Linked DNA regions of Homo sapiens: regions 2, 3, 4 and 5 are each linked to region 1. The links are contacts of gene promoters, found by promoter capture Hi-C in blood cells and fetal thymus (Javierre and others, 2016). All regions are on one chromosome and are shown on one strand. Each heading gives the region's core, a stretch centred on a gene start or on the middle of the fragment in contact. The rest is flanking DNA. Distances are from core to core; before and after follow the strand shown. Region 1 holds the start of TENT4A (terminal nucleotidyltransferase 4A). Region 2 holds the start of MRPL36 (mitochondrial ribosomal protein L36). Region 3 overlaps DAP-DT (DAP divergent transcript). Region 4 holds the start of ROPN1L-AS1 (ROPN1L antisense RNA 1). Region 5 overlaps CCT5 (chaperonin containing TCP1 subunit 5).

Region 1 (2,767 bases), core at 155-2,654:
TGAAGGTATTTGAAAACGTCTGAAACATTCATTTTCATTACTAACCACCACCACTTGCCCCAAAGCCTTTGTATGCAACACACGGACCTTTCCTGTTGGGGCGATGTTTGAAGGGTCAAGTGCTTAGTAATGTCTACTCATCTGTGCTGGAGACGAGGGGGTAGCATTTACAACACGCCTGTACGAAGGCCAGGTCCCGTTCTACTTAAAAGGCTTGGAGCCCGGGCGCCACTGGGCTAAGGCAGCTTCAGGGCCCTGGCCCGGGAGTGCATTTGCGGGGACTCCGCCTGAAGACAGGGCGGCAGCCGCGGGGCCTCACGTCGCCCAGGCTCGCGGGGCACCGCGATGATCAACGACACTGGCGTTTGCTTTGGACCTCACAGGATGTGTGGTTGGCGCTGTATTCCAAACAGTGCCACTGTCAACCCGGCTTCCATCGCGCTCGGGACACCGGGATGGCAAACGGCAGGCTGTGGATGGCGGGCGGTTTCCCACTGACTCCTGCCCGCTCGGTGCAGCTGGAAAAACCGAAGCCGGGGGCCGGACGCGCCGCCCACCAGCCGTTCCTCGGCTAGCACTGCCCATTTTGCCCAGGGAATTAACTTGGAAGTTTTCACTTCACTTTTCGCATAGAAAATCATTTTAAAAAGCAAACCAAACGCCTGTAAGCAGACCCGCTAGGGAGCAGGACTCTGCCGCGTGTCCTTCCCGGCTCCGGAGCGGCGGAGCCAGCCACCCGGCACGGCACGCTGGCCGCTCACCCCGCGAGGTGCAGGGAGCACGTGGGCCGACGCGCGGACCCCAGAGAGCGCAGCGTGACCTGCTGCACGGACCCTCGGATGAGAGACCTGGGGCGGGATCTGCGACCGGGGCCCGCCCTTACGTCAGGAGGGAGGGCCGGCCGGCGGGGGAAGCGCCTGCGGTGGCGTCCGCTGCCCCCGCCCGGCTGCTCGGAAACTTCCACCGGCGGCGGTGACGGCCACGCTGCCCTGCGCACGCGCAGCGCGGCTCAGGCGGCAGCCCGGTGACACCGGCCCTAGCGCGCATGTCTGCACGCCGGGGTCTGCGCGCCGCGGCGGGCCGAGGGCGGCGTGCGGGCCTTCCAGCCGCTGCCTATTCCACCCAACGCCGGCCTAGTCAGTAATGGCTCAACGCCACCGCCTCTCCCTCCAGCCCCTCCCAGTCGCGTAGCTTCTGACGCCGTCCTCACCCCGCCCGCGGCCGACGGGGCCCCAACGCGCAGGCGCGGTAACCACGGCGGCAGTGTCTAGTGAGGATTTGAAATCGGTCGCGCGTGCGCACCGGCGACACGGCCCGGCGACCGAGGCCGCGCTTCCTCCTGCCGCCCCCGTCCCCGCCCCCTCCCCCGCCCCTCATTGGAGCGGACGCGGCGGCGGCCCCCTCCTTCCCCCGCGCTGTCGCCGCCGAGAGTGTCTTTTCACCGCCGCCGCCGCCGCCGCCGCAGGAGCGCCGAGCCAGCGGCGCGAGCGTGACTGAGGGCTAGCCGCACGGGCGGCGGCGCCTCCCGCGGGTCCTTCAGCCGCTCGGCGCCTGGGCCCGCCCCCTCGGCCCCGCCGCCCGCCCTTCTCCGATGGCCTCTCCCCGCGGCCCGAGTGGAACGCCGCCGCCGCCGCGGCCCCCGCGCCCGCCCCGCGCCGCGTGAAGCGGGAGCCCGGAGACCGCAGCCGCCCGCTGGGACGCGCCAAGCGCCGGAGCCGCCCGCCGCGGCCTGCCGGGGCCCATCACCGCCGCCGCCGCCCCACGCCGGAGCCCGACGGGAGCGCGGCTAGAGCAGGAGGCCGGGGCTCGGCCCGCCCGCCGCCGCCGCCGCCGCCGCCGCCACCGGCCCAGGCCCGTCCGTCCGTCCGTGCGCGCGCGGCCGGGCCTCGGGGCGCGGCGGGGGCGGGGCCGCGTCGGGGCGGGCGGGCGCGCGGGCCCCGCGGGGGCGGCGCGTGGATGGATCCGCGCGTGGCCTGGATCCAGCCCGAGCAGAAGGGGCCGGCCAATGCCCTGTGGATGCAGATCTGGGAGACCTCGCAGGGCGTGGGCCGCGGCGGCTCGGGCTTCGCGTCCTATTTCTGCCTCAACTCGCCGGCGCTGGACACGGCGGCCGCGGCGGGGGCGGCCGGGCGGGGCAGTGGCGGCCTGGGCCCCGCGCTGCCCGCCGCGTCGCCCCCGCCGCCCGGCCCCACCGCGCCCGCCGCGCTGCCCCCCGCGCTGCTGACGGCGCTGGGGCCCGCGGCCGAGGGCGCGCGGCGCTTGCACAAGTCGCCGTCGCTGTCGTCCTCGTCGTCGTCCTCCTCGTCCAACGCGGAGTCGGGCACCGAGAGCCCCGGCTGCTCGTCGTCGTCCTCCAGCAGCGCCTCGCTGGGCCGGCCGGGCGGCGGCCGCGGCGGCGCCTTCTTCAACTTCGCCGACGGCGCGCCCAGCGCCCCTGGCACAGCCAACGGGCACCCCGGGCCGCGCGGCCCCGCGCCCGCCGGCTCCCCGTCGCAGCACCAGTTCCACCCGGGTCGCCGGAAACGCGAGAACAAGGCCAGCACCTACGGCCTCAACTACCTGCTGTCCGGCAGCCGCGCGGCCGCTCTCAGCGGAGGGGGCGGCCCCGGGGCCCAGGCGCCGCGGCCCGGCACCCCGTGGAAGAGCCGCGCGTACAGCCCGGGCATCCAGGGGTGAGTGCGCGGGGAGGCCGCGGGGGCGGGGGCGGGGCCCATGGTCCTGGCCGGCGCCCGCGGTGCAGACACCCGTCCCAGGCGCCCGGGCTTTT
Region 2 (2,767 bases), core at 99-2,598, 4.9 Mb before region 1:
ATGGGTAACTTTTAGGGCGTTTGCTTCCAGTCACTTTCCCCTGACTCCTTGATGTGATAATTCCTTCCATAAGATACAACCATTCTCCCAAGTGATGCGATGACGAGTATGTGCGTGACTCTGGAGGGAAAGGGTCTACATCTGTCTCTGCTTGTGCCTCGGATGGGTTTTACAGTAGACGTACCACCGACCCCGCCTCTTCACCAGGTAACAGTCCTTGCAGCGCTTCTTAAGGACAGTCTTGTTTTTGAACCCCAGCGCAGGCAGCAGATGGGGCAGGAGGCCGGGTGAGAGAAGTGAGCGCACTGCTGCCCCGGGTTCCACAGCCACGGGGGCTGCACCTCGAATGGATCCAAATAGAAATGTGGAGAGGGCTCGAGGCTTCACCGTGTGACGACTGAGATAGAGCAGAGGGTTCACCATTTTCCTTATAAAAAGATTTGCCATGTTGTGGTGAATCTATGGGAGAGAGAAAAAAAGGAGTTATAGCTTCTCCTGCACTTCCACCTGCTCTTTAAGGCTTCCTTTTCTCTGTTTCACTGAGGCTTGGGAAGGCAGGGACCTCGGGGACTGAGGGTGTTCCCATACCAGCTGCAGCCTCGACCTGAGCTTGAACACTGCCTTAATCAGCCAAGTGTGCCAGGAGAATAAGGGGCAGTGGACGGTGGCTTCCTTCCCTTTCCCGCCTGCTGCAAGTGTAGGTGAGTGTGCAAAGCCCTGCGATGTTGAGGAGCCGCTCACTTGGCTGGGAGGGAGCTTAAACTTAGGCCGCATCCCTTTCCAAACAGACACCAGGTCAAGGACGGTTCAACTGATGAGCTCCTCCCTCCAACTCTTCCCAGACCCAGGGGCCCTCCCTCGGGCCAGTTTCGGGACAGGCCCCCGCTCCGGAAGAGCACGGAACTCTGGCACCCCGGTCGCCCGCCCCTGCTTCCCCACGCGCCCCGGCCCTTAGGGTTCAGCGGCCCCGGCTGGGAAGAGCTGGGCCTGCAGGGCCCGGAGGACACTGCGGCACCGGAGCCGGCCCTGCGCGCGGGCTGTGAGGTCGCGTTCGGGAGCCGCCAGTTCTCCCGCCCCGGGGTCGCTGGACACCCCCTCCTGTCGCCAGGTCGGGCGCCCACGGTCGGACCCGCACCCCCCAACCCTGGCCCTCTGAGACCGCCAGGCCCCGGCCCACGCTCCTCTGACCGCAGCCCACTCGGGGAGACACGCCCGAGGGTCCCAAGGTGGCCGGCCCCACCCTCTCGCAGCCCCCACTCTCAAGACACCCGGGACCCCTGACCTGAGAAGACGGCTCCCTTACCCGGCCGCACGCTCTCACCCGGCGCCGACCCCTGCGTCTGCGCACTGGCACGCGGACGCTGCTGCCAGGAAGGAAGATGGCGGCGGGGGGGGGGGTCACGTGGCGTGCCCACGTCCAGTGCGGGGCGCAGAGACGCAGCAGCGAGTGCGCAGGCGCTGGAGTGCGACGTATCACTCCCCGACTGCGCGCACTCTGCGGGCCACCGGGATCGTCGTGCTGTTTGGAGCGCTCTCGGGAAAAAAAATGCAAAAACCAGGAACGAAAATGGATATCCGCAACGAAAAAGAAATTACAACCACTTAGGCCTTAGAAAAAACTGGCAAATACCAATGTCAAAACAAACTGAGAAAGAGGACATGTTTTTAAGTGGACAGGAGAAATGTAAACAGGCTCCGGGAAACGAGTGGAGACGGGCAGTAGTTTCAACTGGTTACGGCTGTTTTCCCCAACATTATGAAAAACTTCGGACATAGAGAAAAAGGGAAAGAACTGTACGGTGAACACCCATATACTTGCCACCTAGATTCTACCCTTAGCTCGCTTATCCCTGCCTTTTCAGGTATCTACCCGTAACTCCATTCGCCTTCCTTTTTGTGTGTGTCCGGGTGAGTTGCAGACGTGGCTGCGTCCACTCCGCGCTCCCTGCAGGCCCCAACGCTTCATCGCAGCGCCCACTTTTTCCACCTGACCCGGCGAACACCGGGCGGGCCGCTGGAGTTTATCAGCTCCAGGACAAATCTGCCTCTGACCACCACGTTTGCTGGGACATCTTTGGGACCGGAGGTTTTCATGTGCATTCTTGTTTCTCATGCCTTTCCTCCTCTTTATCATCTTCCCCGCCACTCATCCATCTCTAGTGTTTTGTTCTTGGAGTCACGTGGTCCTCAGGCTCTGACCACAGCAAAAGAAAAGCTGGATGCTGGAGCTTAAGCTGGGATTTATACCCAAGTCAACTCTAAGCAAAACGGGCCTTTTTAGAGGCTGTATTTGCATGCTGTAAAATCAGTCGGTGTACTAGGCTTTGTTGCAGAAATCCCCAATATACGTTTCCTCTGCGGCTCCCCGTAACCACACACAGGAACGCTTGCCTTGAACGAGGAGAATGCACTTCCAGTCTCGTCTGCTAAGCAGTTGACTCCTTCACCCAATAATTTTGATATTTAAATGTCTCATGATTATCGGTTACCATAAGAATATAAACAATGTATTTTCAGTTTACATCCTCCCCTGCCTGTCCGCTAAATAAGAACCACTGGGTACTCCTAATCGCTGAAGGTTTCGCACACCATTGCCTGCCTCATCAGGGCCCTAGCTCTAGCCTGCGGCTGCAACTGCATGAGGCTGCACCTGCCGGCGCAACGGGGCCGCTTAACTTTTAGGCCATTGATGAAAAGTCAAACAAGCGCACAGTACTCGGTGTAATCAGGGGCATTTTTAGCGAGATACCTGGGATGAAAACGGGTG
Region 3 (2,767 bases), core at 168-2,667, 4.1 Mb after region 1:
AAAGTTACCTGCTTGGCCATCTTCCAAGTGTACTTTCCTTTTGTTCCAGATCTAAAGCTTTTTAATAAACTTTCACTCCTCCTTTAAAGTTGCCTCAGTCTCTCTTTCTGCTTTATACCCCTCAGTTGAATTCTTCCTTCTGAAGAGGCAAGAATTGAGGTTGCTGCAGACCTGTACAGATTCACTGCCACTAACGTATTATATTTGGGTGCTACGTGATTCAGGTACATTCTGCTCCTGACAGTGTGACAGCCAAGTTAATTTTACATCTTCAAAGAACTCTTGATTTCCCACCTATCGGCAAATAGCTTCTCCTCTAGAATACAATCCAAGCTACTCATTACAGTGTGGAATAATCTGTCTACTCAATAGCATTTCTAATGAAGGAAATACTGTTAAGAAGGTAGTGAACTTCGCAAAAAAAAGACATTTATTTTTCAGCTTCCCTTGTAGCTAGGGGTAGCCAAGTGACACAGTTTTGACCATGGAAATCTGCTGGGGTGTTTTGGGGAAAATTTACATTCTTAATATGGGGACACCCCTTCCTCCTGGTGACATCATTTGTACCACCTTGAATTCAGACAGAAGGCCAAAGGTAGAACAATCATATCGCAACTGTGAGGCAATCAAAGGCATGAAAATCACAAGCTAAAGGTGACAGAGCAGGAAGGTCAAAGGCATGTGGGAATCTGAGGGTCCATGGAGGCGCTTCAGAGCTGTGGACTCCTCGTCCAGACTTTTTTGTTGTGTGGGAAACAAATTTCTATTAAATAAAGTCCTTGTGGTTGGTGTCTTCATGGGCAGCCAAATGCAACCCCTAGCACACATGGCCTACCAGACCCTGCATGATGGGGGTCCTGCCCAGTTGTGAGCTCCTCCCTCTTGGCTCCTCTGGCCACACTGGCCTTTCTGAGGTTCCTCTAGCAGGACAAGCCAATTCTTCCCCTTGGGACTTTGTGTTAGCCACTCCCACTGAGACAGCCAAGCATAAAGGGGTCCGCAGAGAAACTCTGACTACCTGCACACCGGAAGATGGGGTGGAGCCACAGAAGTTCACGCCCTTTACAGGGGAGAGGAGCCTGACCTCTTCCCGGGTGGAATCTGGGATTCAATCTGTGACGCGGGAAACCGGCTAGCAGGACTCTTGCTTTGCTGAAAGTCCCTGTTTCCTTTTTTTCCTTTTTGCCTAATAAATTCCATTTTCCCCACCCTTCAAAGTGTCTGTGAGCCTAATCTTTCGTGGTTATGTGACAAGGACGCTCTTTTTAGCTAGGCTAACAAGAAAGTCCTACAACACCACTGCCGAGAACTGTCTCTTCCAGATCCTCGCGTAGTTAACTTCTTCTTATTCTGGAATCAGCTTTTCAAGGGGCCTGCTCTGTCTTACTGTCTTTATAGCACTCTATCCTCATCTGAAATTCCTCATTTATCTGTCTGCTGGCTTATTGTTTTTCTCCACTGACTAGAATGTCAGCTCCATGAGGGGAGAAACCTAATCCATCTTGCCCACTAGGTATTCCCAGCACCTAAAACCATGGTGGGCACAGAAGAAGCATTCAACAGTTATTTTCTCCCCATAATTCTAGAACATAGATACATTTAATTTCTCACAACTGCTACCTAAATGAAGAGTAGCCAATGATGACTAAACAGAGAATGAAAAATGTATATAGCATATAGATGGCACATGGCCAGTGATCTTTTCTGACATTTGCTTTATCTTGTAAATACTTTGTGTGTGCATATGTGTGTGCACACGTGTGTGCATGCATGCATGGGAGTGTCCAGCCCCTCCAGCCCTAGATGCTGAGGATAAATGTCAGGCATCACCCACTGGTGATATAGATGTACTATGTAGATGTTCTATGTAGATGTACATACTCAGTAGATAGGATGAGAATTGTTGAATGAATAATCTTATTTGCATCTCACAATAACAGTAGGAGTAAGATGTACCAAGGAAAACAAAAACAAACAAACAAAATGGAGAAGAGAAGGATTGTTGGACTTATGTGGGATGCAACTCTGGTGAGTGTGACCTGGGACCCAGGCTGGATTTTCTAAGCCCCAGTTCCATTCCCCCAAGTGAGGGCTGACTTCTAAACAGAGTTTTGGGAACCATTTTCTTTTCTTCTCTAAATAGGCTGTTTTCTCTCTTTTTTTTTTTTTTTTTTAAGATGGGGTCTCTTTAGATGGGGTCTCACTCTGTCACCCCTGCTGGAGTGCAGTGGCACGATCTCAGTTCACTGCAACCTCTGCCTCCCAGGCTCAGGTGTTTGTCCCACCGCAGCCTCCCAAGTAGCTGGGACTACAGGCCCATGCCACCACGCCCAGCTAATTCTTCGTATTTCTGGTAGCGGCGGGGATTTGCCATGTTACCCAGGCTGGTCTTGAATTCTTGAGCTCAGATGATCCACCCATAAATAGGCTGTTTTCTAATCCCAAATGGTGGTAAATTCACTTAGTGTGAATGCTGTAAGCCCTGGAAAAAGTATTTGAAGAAGAAACGGAAAATGCAGATTCTCTTCTCCAGATGTGTATTTTGTGTCCGTGGCTACATCACTAAACCTTTCTGAGTCTCAGTGTCCTCATCTGCAAGTCAGAGATGTGAACACTAATGCCTCTCCCAGGAAGGTTGTGAGAATTAAGGGCTTTGACTAAACATGATTATGCCCGTACAGCTCCGTGTCACCCCACTTACCCCCTACAGGATCCTGAGACACAGGGGGTTCTCTGCCCTTTTTTGATGGAGAAATTGGATCTGTAG
Region 4 (2,767 bases), core at 87-2,586, 3.7 Mb after region 1:
TTACTTTTTATAGTATTTCTGTAGGGTAAGTTCCCAGAAGTAATATTGCACGATCATCGAAAAATTTTAGTGTTACATTACTGCCCCATAAAGGTACTAATTAACATCCCTCTCAACAACATAGAAGATTCCTTTTTTTTTTTTTCTTTTTTTGGGTGGAGGGGGGCGGGGACAGAGTCTTACTCTGTCGCCCAGGCTGGAGTGCAGTGGTGCCATTTCTGCTCACGGCAACCTCCACCTCCCGGGCTCAAGCTATTCTCCTGCCTCAGCCTCCCAAGTAGCTGGGAATACAGGCACGCGCCACTACGCCCAGCCAATTTTTGTAGAGAAGGGGGTTTCACCATGTTAGCCAGGCTAGTCTCGAACTCCTGACCTTGTGATCAGTGCTGGGGTTACAGGCGTGACCCACCGCGCCCGGACGGATTTCTTGTTTTCATACTGTCATCAACTTTAAATACAAGTATTTTCAGTTTTTGCCAATGCTGTTAATTTAGAAATGTGTATGTATATATTGTCTGGTGGGTGTTTGGATGGAAACGATCAAAATCGGGCAACTTCCCCAGTTTCCTTGAAGGGAGTGCTTGCCATCGGCCCCTCTGGGAAGTAGCTCTCCGTAGTTCTCCATCTTCCTGTTTTGAGGAACGCAGGAGGAGGTGGATCTGGAGTCTCATCCATTCGGTGGCTGTTAACGGCAACTGCAGCAGCCAGCCAGGTCACCCCCTAAAGCAAAGTTAACCCCTTGCATGGTGCCTTGGTCAGCACCCACCAAATTCGAGGTTTCTCCTATCCTTCGACTCGAGGCTCTTTTGACAGATGTGATTTATTTCCTCCTAGAGCCAGTCACATTGGCTCAAGCAACCTATCGTAAGAAAACAAATACAATAGTGTTTTAGCTGGAAACTGCCCACTGTCTAAGCGGCTTTTTAAATTAAGAACTCAGGTTCACTACGGGATGGCTTAGGCCAGGGAACAGCATGTGCGAAGTTCGAAGCCCGAGAAGTTTGGAGGAGCGGCCCCAGGCGCAGGCGGGTCCCGCAGCGGGGCCCGTGCCGCCCAGGCGATCAGCCCCTTCACTTAACCCGCTTCCCTCCTAGCAGGCCCGAGTCCCCTAGCCTCAGCCTCACGCAGCCAGAGCAAGGGGAAGAGGGAGTCCTTCGTGAGTTCGCCGCTCACATTCGGCGGTGGGAAACCGATCCGAAGATGCTTTTGTAGGCGAAACGCTCAGCTCGCGCGGCTCTGAACCACCGGGGAGCAGCGGCTGCTGCTAGTCGGACTACGCCAGCACCTCCTTGTCCAGCCCGGGAGCAGCCCCGCCTCGCTCAGGGCCGCGTGCGCGTGCGCGGCTCCAGGGGCGGGGCCTGCTCGCGTCCCGGGTGCCTGGATACCGAGCGCGTCCGTAGTGGCGGCTGGCGCTAGGGAACTGCAGGGTCTAGGGTGTTGTCGGAGTGGCAGTTGGTCCGAATTTCTCCCGAAGCCCGCGGAGGAGCGGGTAAGAGCCCCGCGAATCCGGCCCCAACCTCGGGAACGGGATGGGAGGCGGCCCTGGCCGCAAGCCCCGCGCTGCTAGCGGGTCCACCGCGTCGTAGCCGACAGCCGCCCTTCTTCCTCGCAGCGCGCCGCGATTCACCAGCCTGGTCCCTTCTGCGGAGAGCGATGCCGCTTCCCGACACCATGTTCTGCGCTCAGCAGATCCACATTCCCCCGGAGCTGCCGGACATCCTGAAGCAATTCACCAAGGCTGCCATCCGCACCCAGCCGGCCGACGTGCTGCGGTGGTCCGCGGGGTAAGCGCCCTTGGCCCGGGGAGCTGTCCGGTCTACATGCCCAAGCCAGACGAGCCCAGAGAGCCCTCCTCCCGGACCAGGGGCCTTACGCGGCACTCAGCGTCCTTAAGAGTATCAGGCAAAACTTTCCCCTTAGCATTGGTGACATCTATACTTGAGTGTTTTATCTAGGAACCATTTCGATTTATCGACTATGAGACCCGAAATCATTGCAAAATGCTCACTTACCTACAACGTAATGGCAACTCAATTGTTTAAAAGTGTTTATGATGAAGATAGACTAAAACTTAACAAAGTAATTGCATTGGGCAAAAAAGTGTTTACATTATGTTAAAAAAATTACACGGTTGCAGTCACTTTGTGAAATGACTTTACAAAGAGGAATATTTTAGCTAAGTTCCTCATCTGCAGAGAGTCCTCTCAGAGCTATGTATACCCAGAGCTGGTTAAATTTATTAGAACCGGAACGACCGTGGTCATACTGAGGTCATCATCCCTAGAGTGCTCAGGGTAAACTGTCCAGCAAATGAAGCTTCACAGTTTATTTTTTGCCACAAACATTCCAACACTTGCCAGGAACAGACATTCATAATCTCAAAGTTACAAGTCAACAGATCTTAGAGGCATTAAAAGAAATCCTCTTGGTTTTACAGGAGAGCTCTTTGCCCCTTTTCAATAAACAGATGTAAAACAAAAACTCACTTTTATGATGACAAGAGTCAGCACAGGTGTAAATTTAATTTAAATATTTTAGTCATCAACATTTCAAATTTTGGCTGGGCTTGGTGGTTCATGCCTGTAATCCCAGCACTTTGGGAGGCCAAGCTGGGAGGATCACTTGAGCCCAAGAGTTTGAGACCAGCCTGGGTAACACAGCAAGACCCCATCTGTATTTTTTTTAATAAGAAAACTAATTTAAAAAGAAAAAAAACAGCCAAATTTTGCTGGCTTTAAACTCTATAACCAAAGTGAATTAGTTTCGT
Region 5 (2,767 bases), core at 119-2,618, 3.5 Mb after region 1:
CCAAATCATAGTTGTCTTTTGAGATTAACATTATACTTAATGATGCTCCATAATGTTTTGCCAATTATGTTAGCCAATCTAAAAATGCCTTCATGCAGCTACTATTTTGTGTATGTTGCATTATTTGTATATAATAAATTGCACAGATAAGAGCTGGGTCAGGAGGTCTTGTTTTATAGTTTGTGATATTGGTTGCCAGTTTTTTGCGCAAAGCCTACTAAACGTTGTTTTTTAGGGCTTGATAAGATGATGGTGGATAAGGATGGAGATGTGACTGTAACTAATGATGGGGCCACCATCTTAAGCATGATGGATGTTGATCATCAGATTGCCAAGCTGATGGTGGAACTGTCCAAGTCTCAGGATGATGAAATTGGAGATGGAACCACAGGAGTGGTTGGTAAGAAAAGACAAAACATCCTTTCTCATTTAAGAGACGTCATTTAAGACCACAGGGCTAACATGCCTGCTGAGATTGTTGTCTCTGAATCAGAGCATGAGGAGACAGACAAATCCAAGTTGAAAACATGCTACAAAACAAATGTCGGACTTTCAAAACTGACAGTGTTACAAAAGAACAGAAAGAGGGCTGGGGATTGTTAGGCATGGAGAAATGTGTAATGATTGATTGGACACTGATTTTGCTTGTCTTTTAAGCTATAAAGGATGTTTGGGAAACGTGGAAGAATTTGATTTTGGATCATGTACTGCAATGCTGAGTTTCCTGAGTGATCTGTGACCATTATATTGCAGATGTGTAGGAGAATGCCCTTCTTCTCAGCTGTATACCTAAATACTTAGGAGTGACATGTCATGGTTTCTGTAACTAATTCTCAAATAGTTGAACAGAAACAGTATGTACATGTAGAGAAAATGTGGCAAAATGTTAATAAGTAAACTGGTATTCGTTTTAGTATTGTACCTTTTTTTTCTGAAGATTTGAAATCTTTAAAAAGTTGGGGAGATTGAAGACAAAATATCAGTAAGGTTACCTTTTCTGCAGATGAAATTTGAATTCATTCAACAAATATTTATTGGATACTATTGTATGCCAAGCACTGTTCTCGGTGCGCTTGGAGAGCTGTAGATTTAAACAAAATTCATCTTTGCGACCCTAAAATGAGGAGAAAGGAGGATGGGGGTGGGGGGAATAAATAATAAACACGTTTTAGTCTCATCACCAGGCTGAATTTCACTGAGTAGACCCTGGCCCAGGAAACATAATAGCTTTTTACCTCTTAGAAAAATGTTCTTTTTACATTATATTCTTTAGTTACGTTCTTCACATCACTGAGGGTTGAATGTTCATCTGTAAGGGGACACATGTCCTATTCGACCTTCGCTAGAACTAAAACGAGGCTTTCTTTTAAAAATAGAGGGCTTCTGCCTCTAAGATGACTTGCAGCTTAATTCTAGAAGCTGCTTCTTTCCATGATAGCATCTAACTTGTGCTGATTATACTAAAAGTGAAGTTTTGTTGTTTGCCTGAACTGATTGTCTGCTGGCTTATTTGCAGTCCTGGCTGGTGCCTTGTTAGAAGAAGCGGAGCAATTGCTAGACCGAGGCATTCACCCAATCAGAATAGCCGATGGCTATGAGCAGGCTGCTCGTGTTGCTATTGAACACCTGGACAAGATCAGCGATAGCGTCCTTGTTGACATAAAGGACACCGAACCCCTGATTCAGACAGCAAAAACCACGCTGGGCTCCAAAGTGTACGTTTCAGTAGATGATATGATTACCCATTTGTAGAGGAGGCAGTTTGTTTGCCATTTCTTAAAGGCAACACAAAATGACCACTGGTGGATTTGTATCGATTTGATTATTTGTTTTGATTACTTGGTTTTGCTTTGTTTTTAATGTAGATGTAGACAGATGCATTTTGTATTTAAGTTGAGAACTGAATTTCTAAGTTCAGGTATAAATCCCCTTGACAATATTTGCAAAATATAGTTATTTTAATTTAGCAGAATAGGTTGTGTTAAAAATCAGCTAAGGCTGGATGCAGTGGCTCATACTTGTAATCTCAGCACTTTAGGAGGCCAAAGCAGTAGCTTGCTTGAGCTCAGGAATTGAAGACCAGCCAGGGCAATGTAGTGGGACCCCATCGCTACAAAACAAAAAACTAGCCAGGCATGGTAGCACACACTTCAGCAACTCCAGAGGCTGAGGTGAGAGGTCGAGGCTGCAGCAAGCCATGATCATGCCACTGCACTCCAGCTTGAGCAACAGAGCGAGACCCTGTCTCAAAAAAAAAAAAAAGTCAACTAGAAAGGGTCCTACCTGGAGGATATGTGAATTTTCTTAACACTTCTTTCTATAATTTCTTTGCTGGGGAGCCATTGGGGGTGGGTTCCACTTTTTATTCAGCAAATTGCCGATCCAAAATTATAATTTAGTAAAGAGAGTCTTGAAAGCGACTTGTCTCTGGTGTTTTCAGCGTTCGTGTAATGTCCGTTTGCCAGGCTTACTGCCAGGTCTTATGGGCACTAAGACACAGCTCTTCTCCCAGGAGACTCTAAGCAACCTCAGCCAAGGGGTGCGCTGATTATGTACAATGCCAAAGACTTAAGGTCTGTTGCCGTAATATAACATAAAAATCCAGTGTAAGCTGCTTTATTACATTATATTAAATCAGTGAGAGATGTTTTCAATTGTGTGCTTGTGGTGGTTTTAGCAAAAAGGAATGAGGGATCTTCTAAACTCAGAGTAGTCAGGGAAAATGCAGGAAAAGTGTCTGCTTCTGTTGCCTTTTCCCCTGAGCAAA

Evidence for each region. Contacts are between HindIII fragments. The CHiCAGO score rates a contact against its expected background, and 5 or more counts as called.
Region 2: a contact is called between the fragment with the promoter of MRPL36 here and the fragment with the promoter of TENT4A in region 1, in 1 of 17 cell types (erythroblasts). The highest score is 8.4, in erythroblasts.
Region 3: a contact is called between a fragment that was not itself captured here and the fragment with the promoter of TENT4A in region 1, in 1 of 17 cell types (non-activated CD4 T cells). The highest score is 6.3, in non-activated CD4 T cells.
Region 4: the fragment with the promoter of ROPN1L-AS1 here is called in contact with the fragment with the promoter of TENT4A in region 1 in 1 of 17 cell types (total CD4 T cells); the score reaches 6.8 in total CD4 T cells.
Region 5: a contact is called between a fragment that was not itself captured here and the fragment with the promoter of TENT4A in region 1, in 1 of 17 cell types (neutrophils). The highest score is 7.6, in neutrophils.

Annotation. Positions count from the first base shown.
Region 1 is chr5:6,712,028-6,714,794 of GRCh38, forward strand. TENT4A (terminal nucleotidyltransferase 4A) reads left to right here and starts at 1,405. Exons shown (of 13, transcript NM_006999.6): 1 at 1,405-2,672. The coding sequence starts at 1,957. RefSeq lists an enhancer at 494-553 and silencers at 724-1,163, 1,274-1,643, 1,944-2,013, 2,384-2,767. The HindIII fragment of the contact is 9,360 bases long and covers 1-2,767 here.
Region 2 is chr5:1,798,489-1,801,255 of GRCh38, forward strand. MRPL36 (mitochondrial ribosomal protein L36) reads right to left here and starts at 1,349. Exons shown (of 2, transcript NM_032479.4): 1 at 1,304-1,349; 2 at 1-459. The coding sequence starts at 447. The coding sequence ends at 136. RefSeq lists a silencer at 819-1,228 and enhancers at 2,309-2,358, 2,419-2,548, 2,728-2,767. The HindIII fragment of the contact is 7,489 bases long and covers 1-2,767 here.
Region 3 is chr5:10,764,391-10,767,157 of GRCh38, forward strand. The region is part of intron 1 of DAP-DT (DAP divergent transcript); the gene reads left to right. Among named protein-coding and RNA genes, the nearest start is that of DAP, 4.5 kb to the left of the region's middle. The HindIII fragment of the contact is 2,724 bases long and covers 56-2,767 here.
Region 4 is chr5:10,440,515-10,443,281 of GRCh38, forward strand. ROPN1L-AS1 (ROPN1L antisense RNA 1) reads right to left here and starts at 1,337. Exons shown (of 2, transcript NR_102746.1): 1 at 1,174-1,337; 2 at 221-859. It overlaps ROPN1L (rhophilin associated tail protein 1 like), which reads left to right and starts at 1,365. Exons shown (of 5, transcript NM_031916.5): 1 at 1,365-1,784. The coding sequence starts at 1,654. RefSeq lists a silencer at 1,219-1,478. The HindIII fragment of the contact is 3,763 bases long and covers 1-2,314 here.
Region 5 is chr5:10,254,439-10,257,205 of GRCh38, forward strand. CCT5 (chaperonin containing TCP1 subunit 5) reads left to right here. Exons shown (of 11, transcript NM_012073.5): 3 at 236-400; 4 at 1,517-1,715. Among named protein-coding and RNA genes, the nearest start is that of CCT5, 5.5 kb to the left of the region's middle. The HindIII fragment of the contact is 3,553 bases long and covers 1-2,767 here.